Linked DNA regions of Homo sapiens: region 1 is linked to region 2. Evidence: promoter capture Hi-C in 16 types of primary human blood cells and fetal thymus (Javierre and others, 2016). All regions are on one chromosome and are shown on one strand. The core of a region is centred on a gene start or on the middle of the fragment in contact, and the rest is flanking DNA. Distances in the headings are between cores, read along the strand shown. Region 1 overlaps MYCBP2 (MYC binding protein 2). Region 2 holds the start of MYCBP2 (MYC binding protein 2).

What was found. Contacts are between HindIII fragments. The CHiCAGO score rates a contact against its expected background, and 5 or more counts as called.
Region 1: a fragment that was not itself captured here is called in contact with the fragment with the promoter of MYCBP2 in region 2 in 4 of 17 cell types (total B cells, naive B cells, fetal thymus and 1 more); the score reaches 8.8 in total B cells.

The regions. Positions count from the first base shown.
Region 1 is chr13:77,062,931-77,067,441 of GRCh38, forward strand. MYCBP2 (MYC binding protein 2) reads right to left here. Exons shown (of 83, transcript NM_015057.5): 72 at 3,062-3,158; 73 at 1,685-1,804. Among named protein-coding and RNA genes, the nearest start is that of MYCBP2-AS1, 10 kb to the right of the region's middle. The HindIII fragment of the contact is 2,502 bases long and covers 1,787-4,288 here.
Region 2 is chr13:77,324,001-77,328,559 of GRCh38, forward strand. MYCBP2 (MYC binding protein 2) reads right to left here and starts at 3,094. Exons shown (of 83, transcript NM_015057.5): 1 at 2,474-3,094. The coding sequence starts at 2,775. LOC127898562 reads right to left here and starts at 2,988. Exons shown (of 1, transcript NM_001414702.1): 1 at 2,905-2,988. The coding sequence starts at 2,988. The coding sequence ends at 2,905. It overlaps LOC107984564 (a long non-coding RNA gene), which reads left to right and starts at 3,045. Exons shown (of 2, transcript XR_001749930.2): 1 at 3,045-3,135; 2 at 3,264-4,198. RefSeq lists enhancers at 1,394-1,573, 3,244-3,573 and silencers at 2,514-2,633, 2,674-3,053. The HindIII fragment of the contact is 13,146 bases long and covers 1-4,298 here.

The sequences.
Region 1 (4,511 bases), core at 1,788-4,287, 260 kb before region 2:
GAACCACCCTGTCTTCTATCTGACAAATAAAATTATCCTTTATTGGTCTACTATGTAAACAACATATGAATAAATGAATTGGCATATTTAATATTTACTACTAATGTCTTCTGAATATTTTTCCATTTAGTATCATTAAATGCCAAAGAAGGTGGTACAGCAACTGCTAAATTGTGTACAGTCCCATGAGTAGTCAGGTACACATTAAATCCTTCTAGATAATAAAAGTTCCTCAGAAGTCTTTGTTGCCCCTTGTTGCCCCAGAAAGCCTAATACTATACTTGGTGCACTTTGTCAGAAATACATACATGTCTAAAAGCTTTAGAAAACTGTTCTCCAAAATAGGGCCGGGCACAGTGGCACATGCCTGTAATCCCAGCACTTTGGGAGGCCAAGGTGGGTGGATCACCTGAGGTCAGGGGGTTATGACCAGCCTGACTAACATGGTGAAACCCAGTCTTTACTAAATACAAAAAAAATTAGCCAGGTGTGGTGGTATATGCCTGTAATCCGAGCTACTTGGGAGGCTGAGACAGGAGAATCGCTTGTACCTGCAGGCGGAGGCTGCAGTGAGCCAAGATCGTACCATTGCACTCCAGCCTGGGCATCAAGAGTGAAACTCTGTCTCAAAAAAAAAAAAAAAAAAAAAAAGACAACTGTTTTCAGAAATAGTTAAAAATTTCTGAGGCTTAAAGGGTAAGCTTCAGTTTTATATAGAATGATATATCCCCTCATTAATGAAGAATAGAAAATGACTTAACTAGCTCAACTCTAAGAAGTGCATGTGAGTGTTATTGGATACAGAAAGCAAGAGATGTTAAAATAGGGACAGAAAAATAGAAAAAGAAATAATGCATGCAAGGAGGAAGGGGAATGCAGACTGAAAGAAAGCAACACATGAGTGGTAGGAAAGGATTACTGTCAAAAATACCTATTTCAGGTGTCACAGTCAATAATAGCAAGATAGCATAAATTGACTTTTTCCGCCCTAGGGATATATAGTTTATCTTCTTCAGATTTCTGAGGATTAACCTAAGCAATTTTTACCAGCATTCACTTCTTCCTAACGTTGTCAGACTGCCCTCCTTCAAGGAAATCTCAAATCTCTTCTGGAAGTATATGGGACATGAAATCTAGCAGGTTAAAACTTACTATAAATGTGTCATCTGAAGAATGCAATCTCATTTCCTCAAAGATTTCCACCCTGACCCTGCCCTGGACAAGCACTTCTTGCTTTTTAGAAGTAAGACCTATAAATCCTGTAAGTAAGTTACAGGGCTCTACATTAGGAACAACCAGGCATAGGCAGGGGTCTTGTCTCCAAAGGACCTTCGGTCTATCACAGCATAATGCTGGCACTAAACTTACTGTGGTAAACTACAGCAAACAGATCATTAGAAAGACAACACGCAAACAATGTACAATGTAATTAGCCTTTTCTAACCAGTGTACCCTTGGCTTCCTAAACAATAACAAAAACAAGTGACACAGAACACATAACAGTGAGAAGTAACGACTAGTTCATAATATAAAAGCCCTTTATACTTTTTCAATAAATACGGTATTTGGTTAAAAAATAATTATGTTGACTTAGTGATTAAAATTTGTTTAAATCTATTACTAAAAAAGAACACGCAATGATACACACCAAATTTAAAACAAAACAAAACAAAGCAAAACCTACTCTAGTTGTTGCAATACATCTCACTGGAGACCTAAATTCTTCTTCCATCTTGGTCAAGGCAATGATGGTTTCTGCAATAGCATTTTTTGTCACTCGGGACCAAGCTTCTGACAGATGACCCTATTGAGCAGAACAGAGTATTTTAATAAGTGACCAGAAATGTATTACCATAGTAAACTCTTTTTTCTTAAATAACATCTCCTATCAAAGGAAATATTTGTTTTTAGTGAGACCATGGAATTTTAGATTATGGGCACAAACTTTTGAACTAAAATTTCTTCGTGATCCTATGGAAAATTCAACTTCTAATCATCATTTTGATATTTAAAAATAAATAAATAAAAAATTAAGTTCTCAATACTCTTTTCCTGGAAATCAAGGGCAATTACTCTCACATCTGATAAAAACATAACAGAAATACTAAGGTTATCTATGTTTGAGAAGTTTGTCACTTAGCATAAAATTTACACAGTGAAGCTAACTGCTTTAGATGAGTATTACAGGAACCTAAAATATAAACAGGTTCAAACTGCAACTACCTTTATTTGCTACCTTGATTTGTAATGAACAAACATTTAACTATCATATAATTTAGGTGTTCCTAAATATTACTCCTAAATATTTTAATTCAATGAACACCCTGAGAAAGTCTGTTTGCCACAGAGGTTGAGAAAATATCCACGCTGTTGGGAAAAGTGATAGAACTTCATCTTTCCCCCAGAAAATCCTCCCACTTCTCATATCCACATGATTTAAGGGGCAGTTCAATTCCTCCTCCTTCTCCAAGCTGCCTTCTATTCCTTCTGACTCTACATTCCATACTATCTTGTCCTTCTCAGGCTGCCCTCCTAGAAATAATACAATGTGTGGAAAATGACAAGGAGCAACTAATCAGAGCCAGGCATTCTGTAAAGTAACTCCCTGTCCTCCACACTCCCAGATCTCCTTTGGAAGCCACCATCTTAAGACAGAGGGTATATGACATTAATAAAGAAGAATAAAGGGTTTAAAAACCATGAGGACTGAGGAGAATGAGAAACTTCCACTTTCGAGAGCTCTCTTCCTCTTTTTTTCCTTTAGGTTTTTTGAATCAAGTTCTTTCTTAGGGTCTGAAAGAGCATATTTTATTTTATTAGATTTTAAAGTCACGTAACAATTCCCACACAAATTAACTGGAAAATTTGAAATGAACATGGTTTACATAAATGACAAATTATCACTCACTGAAAAGACAAACAGCATGATAGTTAACATACTACAAATAGTCTTTAAGTAAAGTTACACTAATCTACATCTCCTATCAATTCAGCAGAGTAAGCTGTTTTGTGTCAGCTTCCTGCCGCACTTCACTGCCAAAACAGAAGAATGGGAACTTACTGCTGCCATATCCTTGATAAGTTTAATGATGATCTCTGAGATCTGGGTAGGGGTTGAGCCCTTCATCCACCAATGACTTTCACCTCGTCGGAGATAACTACAAGAAAAATTAGCACTTAAAAAGCCAATAAATTATCAGTAGTAGTAACAAATGAAAAAGATGAAAATGTTATTTCAGAATGCAGCATTTTAGATTTTTAAGTGACTGAATCAATTAAAACATTTAAAAAGAAAATTCATCAAACCATTACCCCAAATCCCAAGACAGCAGTTAAGGTTATTTGAGTTCCCTTTCAAGTATTTCTCTGTTTGCACATTATTTCTGTGTGCATCTTTTAGAAGTACAGTCCAGGGACCACACACGACTTATTTCTAGGGCACATGCGGATAATGTGGAGCTTAACCGGAATATAAATTCACTGTATCACTAAGCACACTACTATTTAGTTCAGCTGACTTTTTTCCTAGCAAGACTACAGGAAAGAAGTGATACAATGATTAACATTCTGATGTTATCTGCATATTGTCATGGATTGGCTCTACAAGTAGCACTGTTCAGATGTCTCTAATTCTCTACTGTTACACACAATTACAGAACATCCTTGCATATATACCTTGGTGCAAATGCATGAAAGTTTTAGAAGTAGAATTGGTAGGTCAAAAGATATGCATATTTAAAATATAGTTAGATATTATAAACAGATATCCAAAAAGGCTGCAGCAATTTATATGAGATGAAAATGCCTATTTCCTCATAATGTTGCCAAAGCATCAAAGATATTTTGCAATTATTTTAATCTACATTTCTCTGATTAGTAGTGAGGTGTTTTCATTTGTTTACTGGCATTTATAAGTTTTTTTCTGTGAACTGACTACTGGCATTTATAAGTTTTTTTCTGTGAACTGACTGTTCTTGTCATTTATTATTCTTATCAGTTGTTTGCCTTTTTAAAATTGATTTGTAGTCATACTTCTATATTATGCTAACAAGTCATTGTCTATTATATAGGTTTAAGTATTTTTCTAAGTTATTTCCCTATATTTTAAAACATTTAAATATTATCACCTATCAAGTAATTTTCATTTTTATATAGTCAAATCTATAAATATCTTCCTATATGATTTTGGGTTCTGTGTTTTGTTTAAGAAGGTCTTATCAAATTGAAGATTACAAAAATATTCTTCTATAATTTGTCCCAGTACAGTTTTAAAAAGAAATGTACATAAAGCTTTAGTTGACCTGAACTTTACTTTATTCCCCCATATTTATTTCTTTTTATTGTGGCAAAAAAACATATTACCTAAAACTGAAGTTTAATTTTGTATATGGTGAGAGGTAGGTATCTAGAATTTTTTTTAACATGGATATCCAAATATTCTGACATCACATATTCAGCCTACTTTCTATTCCCCACTAATTATAAATGACACTTTTATTATATACATGACC
Region 2 (4,559 bases), core at 1,844-4,343:
TCTCCATTTAGCCTCCCATATTTGCATATCCCACCCAACCTCCTATACTTGAATATCCTTCCCTCAACTTTGAAATCCCCTTGAGTTACCAAAAACACATTCCATTCACTCCTCACCACATCCCTCTATTCTGACCACTTCCTCAAAAGTTATCAATGACCTGAAAACGGTTCTCACTTTCTTCAACATTTACCACTTCTGAGAATTTTCAATCCACTCTCCTAGAGCCACAGAGGCTACTGTTTCATGATTTTCTTCTTAATTTTGATTCCGTTTCCTTCACTGTCTCCTTTCTCTCACACCTTTAAACCTGATGCTCACTAGAGCTTCATTCTCTATTATTGCTCCATTCAGTCTCTCTAAAAGATATCATCTTCTCCTTTAACTTGTGTCCCTATACAAATAATTCTATCATTCATTCAGAGCCGAAACCCCAAGTCTACTTTCCTCAACATCTTTAATAAGAAATGTGATTTAATTCTTAATCAAATCATCAATAGAGTAGTTGCAGGCTACTTTTTGTAATAAAATAATGTGAACTTAAATAAACAATAATGTTGCGTTGAACAAGCATTAGCAGGCAATATCATAACATAATGCTGATTTCCATGAGTAGTTCTTGAAATACTTGAACTAATTCTTCATTACTTTTCATTGACGGCTTGTACAAAAATGGACCAAGGGCTAAAAAATCATTCACAAATGTTATATGATTAATCTATGTTAATTTTGTCTAAAACCGTTAATATAGTTCTAGATACACAGAAATCATATTACACTAGTAGTAGGAAGTCAAAACAGGAATATACAAGTCAAAAATTATTGCATAAGTCTGGAAACCATACACAAAATAAATTTAAATTCTTTGAGAGGAGTTTGTAAAGATGTTCCTGCGGTGCCATAATTTAGAGATTTACAGATCAAAATTATACCTAATTATCAGGGCAAACTGTCTCACGTAGTTTTGTGCTATTTTCAAAAGCATTAGCAAGAAACAGACTTGTGCCATTCTGGCCTTCAGTTCAGATAGCAAAAAATAGTTACACACGTTTACATCCATATGGTAAAACTACTGCTGTGCCCAATCCTGTAAACAATCACAGACATGAGAAAACTGGTTAACCTAGAAAAAGTGTGAACAAAGCTCCAGCTTTACAACTGTCTCCAACAGATAAGCCATGATACCTAGTGATAAGCTACAAATACCTGACTTACAGCCTCGTCCCTTTCATAATGGGAGAAAAAGACACCTAACAATTGCCTAATAAATTGCACATTCAATAAATAACAGTAAACTCTTTAACTCATTTTGACAGTTTCCTACTATGTTTTCCCCATGTACTGCAAGAAGCTGTGGGAAAAAAAAGATGAAGCCAACTCCCAATTACCACTGTCAAAGCTGGTGAAACAAGTCAGTCACCAACCTTCAGGGTATGCGGCATGTAAGGGCATGGAAAAGAAAACAATAGGAGAGCCCTCAGCAAAAAAAAGCACCCACATTTTAAGAAAAAGAAAATGAAACCAACTGAACATCTACATCAAGGAAGCTGAAGGTGTAGCCAACCCAAGTAAAAGAGACAAATCTACGCGCTATTCAGATTTTCTAGCTAGTGGCAGTTGAACGCTGTACCAGCTGTCATATTCTGAAGTTCTGCAGTTTTCCCCTTTTCCCTACAAAACCCTCTCTACTCTAAAGCCTGTAAGTAACAGAGGAAATCGAACAGAGGATGAAGAGAAATGGCCGATGGGACATCAGATCACAAGAGTAACTGCAACCTCATTTCTAGAAGACCAAAAGGCCCGGTTATCAAAGTACAGCTCTAAAAATCTCTATCAGACACCTTTCGCATCCACACAGATCTCCATCTGCGTCCCTTATTCATAAATCTTTTTAAAGCAAACCTCACGCCTATCCCTCGGGCCTGCTTATCCAAAACTCAACCAATCTATACCATGACTCCTCTTGGTGAAAGGCAGATTGAAGGGAGGTGGAAAGGGCTGGAAGGAATGTCATGGGAGAGGCGGCACGTGCAAATAACATTGCGGCAGAGACACTGAAAACGCCACTTCCCTTGCCACTGTTGCAATTCTCTTCGTGTATCATCCTCTTACCCTCTCTACCCATGCCACCTCCTACCTCAACGATACACACACGTGTCACAGCCGACCAGCACCATCGCCTTTTCCAGCATCACAGGTTCCCCTACCACCCCTCACTATCCCCCCACATAGGCAGGCAGACACACACACACACACACACACACACACACACACACACACACACGAGAAACTGCAGCCACCGCACCCTCCTATCTCGATAAGTGCTCCTGCCAACAGACATCCAGAGCGGACTGAAAGCTCAATAAATGCGCAGGTACACACACGCAAGCACACACACACGCGGGTGCACGCGCGGCATGGGGCGCAAGGAAGGGCGGCATGGGGCGCAAGGAAGGGCACCCTGGGGACGCACCTGGAGGCTGGGTGTCCAGCGCTGCCGCCCCCCTGGTCCCTGTCATTGAGCGCAGCGGTATAAATCCTCCGGTAGCGGTCGGCCAGGGCCCGGCCTGACAGCAGCAGCTGGTAGTGACCCCGGGAGTCCGCGGCGGGTAGCCCCAGCCCCAGCCCCGCAGCAGCCACGGAGCCGTCGGGAACCGGCATGAACAGCGCCCCCGGCGCCGGGGAGGAAGAGAAGGTGGCGGCTGGGTAGAATCCGTCCCCGCCGAGCCCCGAGGAGGCGGCGGCGGGGGAGGCAGTCGCTGCGCACATCATCATCCTCGCCGCCGCCGCCGCCGCCGCCGCCTCGTCCCCGCGGGCCGGGCGGGCAGACACGCGCGCGCACACACAGCCCTTTTCCAACGACGACGGCTCCGGCGGCGGCCTCTGGCTCCCGCAGCAGGGAGACTACAAAGACAGCGACCTCCTTCTCCTCCTCCTTCTTCTCCTCCTCCCCCCCGCGCCGCCCTCGCCGCTACTGGGGCCGCTCATCTAACCCCGCCACCCCGGGAATGTGAGGAGGAGGCGGTGCCGCCACTGCCGCCGCCACCACCGCTACCACCGCCACCACCGCCGGGGCTACCCGCAATGGGAAGCTGCCGGCCTCACAGAGCATGCGCCACTCCTCGCACATGCTCAGTAACTGCCGCCCCTTTTCCTCCCCACCCCCTCTCCGCCACCACTCCCTCCGCCTCGGGGCTTTGGGTTTGGGGCTGTTGGGTTGTGCGGAATCTGAAGTAGTCCACTTCTCCGGGTTTTACTGGCAGCTTGAAGAAGAGTAAGGAAAGTGCTGGGGAGGCTGTCAGCTACTGACGTTCGACTTCAGGTTCCCTCCAGGTGGAAGAACGAGGACCAGAAAGCAAGGGGGAACGTGCCCATCGCCAGAGGAGGAGTGGCACGCTCTTCTGCTACCTCTTCTCCAAGGCTCTGCTGCCAACAGGAAGATTTACTGTGAATTGTGCTGGTTAATTCAGAGTTTAAGGCAGAGAAAACCATCCCAATTAGAAGTGCCTTTAGCGATCTTATTTTATATGGTTTTTGTCATTAGGATTTACGCTTGTTTAACACAGCTTTTACTTACAAAGACAGGTAGTAATCTAGCACATTCTTTTTTGTGTGTGAAAGTATTTTGTGTGTGAAAGTATAACAGATAGGCTAGTATTCACAAGCCAGAGTCATTCCCAAATTCTTGTTCTCAACGGAGCAATAATATTTTTTAAATTACTCTTTTTTATTGACTCCTCACTCACCTAAGAGTGCACTTTTATCTCTTGGCAGTGGTCATTTAATGGTTTATTTTTTTCTGCCCAAACTTACATTTTTAAAGATAATTCTTGAATGCGATCTGAAACAATAATTGTGACGGAGACTGTATAGCGTCTGAAAATGTCAGATCCATCACATATCTTGTTGTTGTCTATAAAAAAGTAACATTTGCTCAGTCCTTTGTTCCAAGCTAACCTACGAACCCCATCTAAGTATATGCTCTAGAAATATACGTGCCAATGCACTTTGATTCCTACTACGTTTTATCCTTTGACTCTCAATTTGAAGAGTTTCCTAATTTACAGTCCTGACAAAATAATTTATAAGTTCTGTCATCCCAGTACTGTATCTTTCATCTATGTACTAGTTCTTATATCTGTGCCTCTTCTTCGGATGGCCTTCTCTTAAAAAAAAATAAAATAAATGTTAAAAAATCCTCCTTAGTGTTTGAGAAGTGCAAACAACAAGGAATAGGAAAGTAAATTAATTCTAGTTTTAGGGTGGAAGGTTGCTGAAAGCAATGCATTTTTTTCTGAAGCTTTAAATAATGGATGGATTTCATTTAGTTTTTTTAAAGATAATTAGCAGTGGGATAAACATAGGAACAAAGGACAAGACATGTGGAATCATAGTATTTTAGTACTGTAATTAGCCCTGTTAAGTTTTTGTATTTGTCTTGTTTCCTTACCTAAGTTCCTTCAGAGCTTGCTGCTTTTGTGTCTCCTTCAGCCACTTCAGGACTTTGCATGTAGTAGGTATCCAGTAAGTATTTATTAGACTAAATTTCTATCCTAATG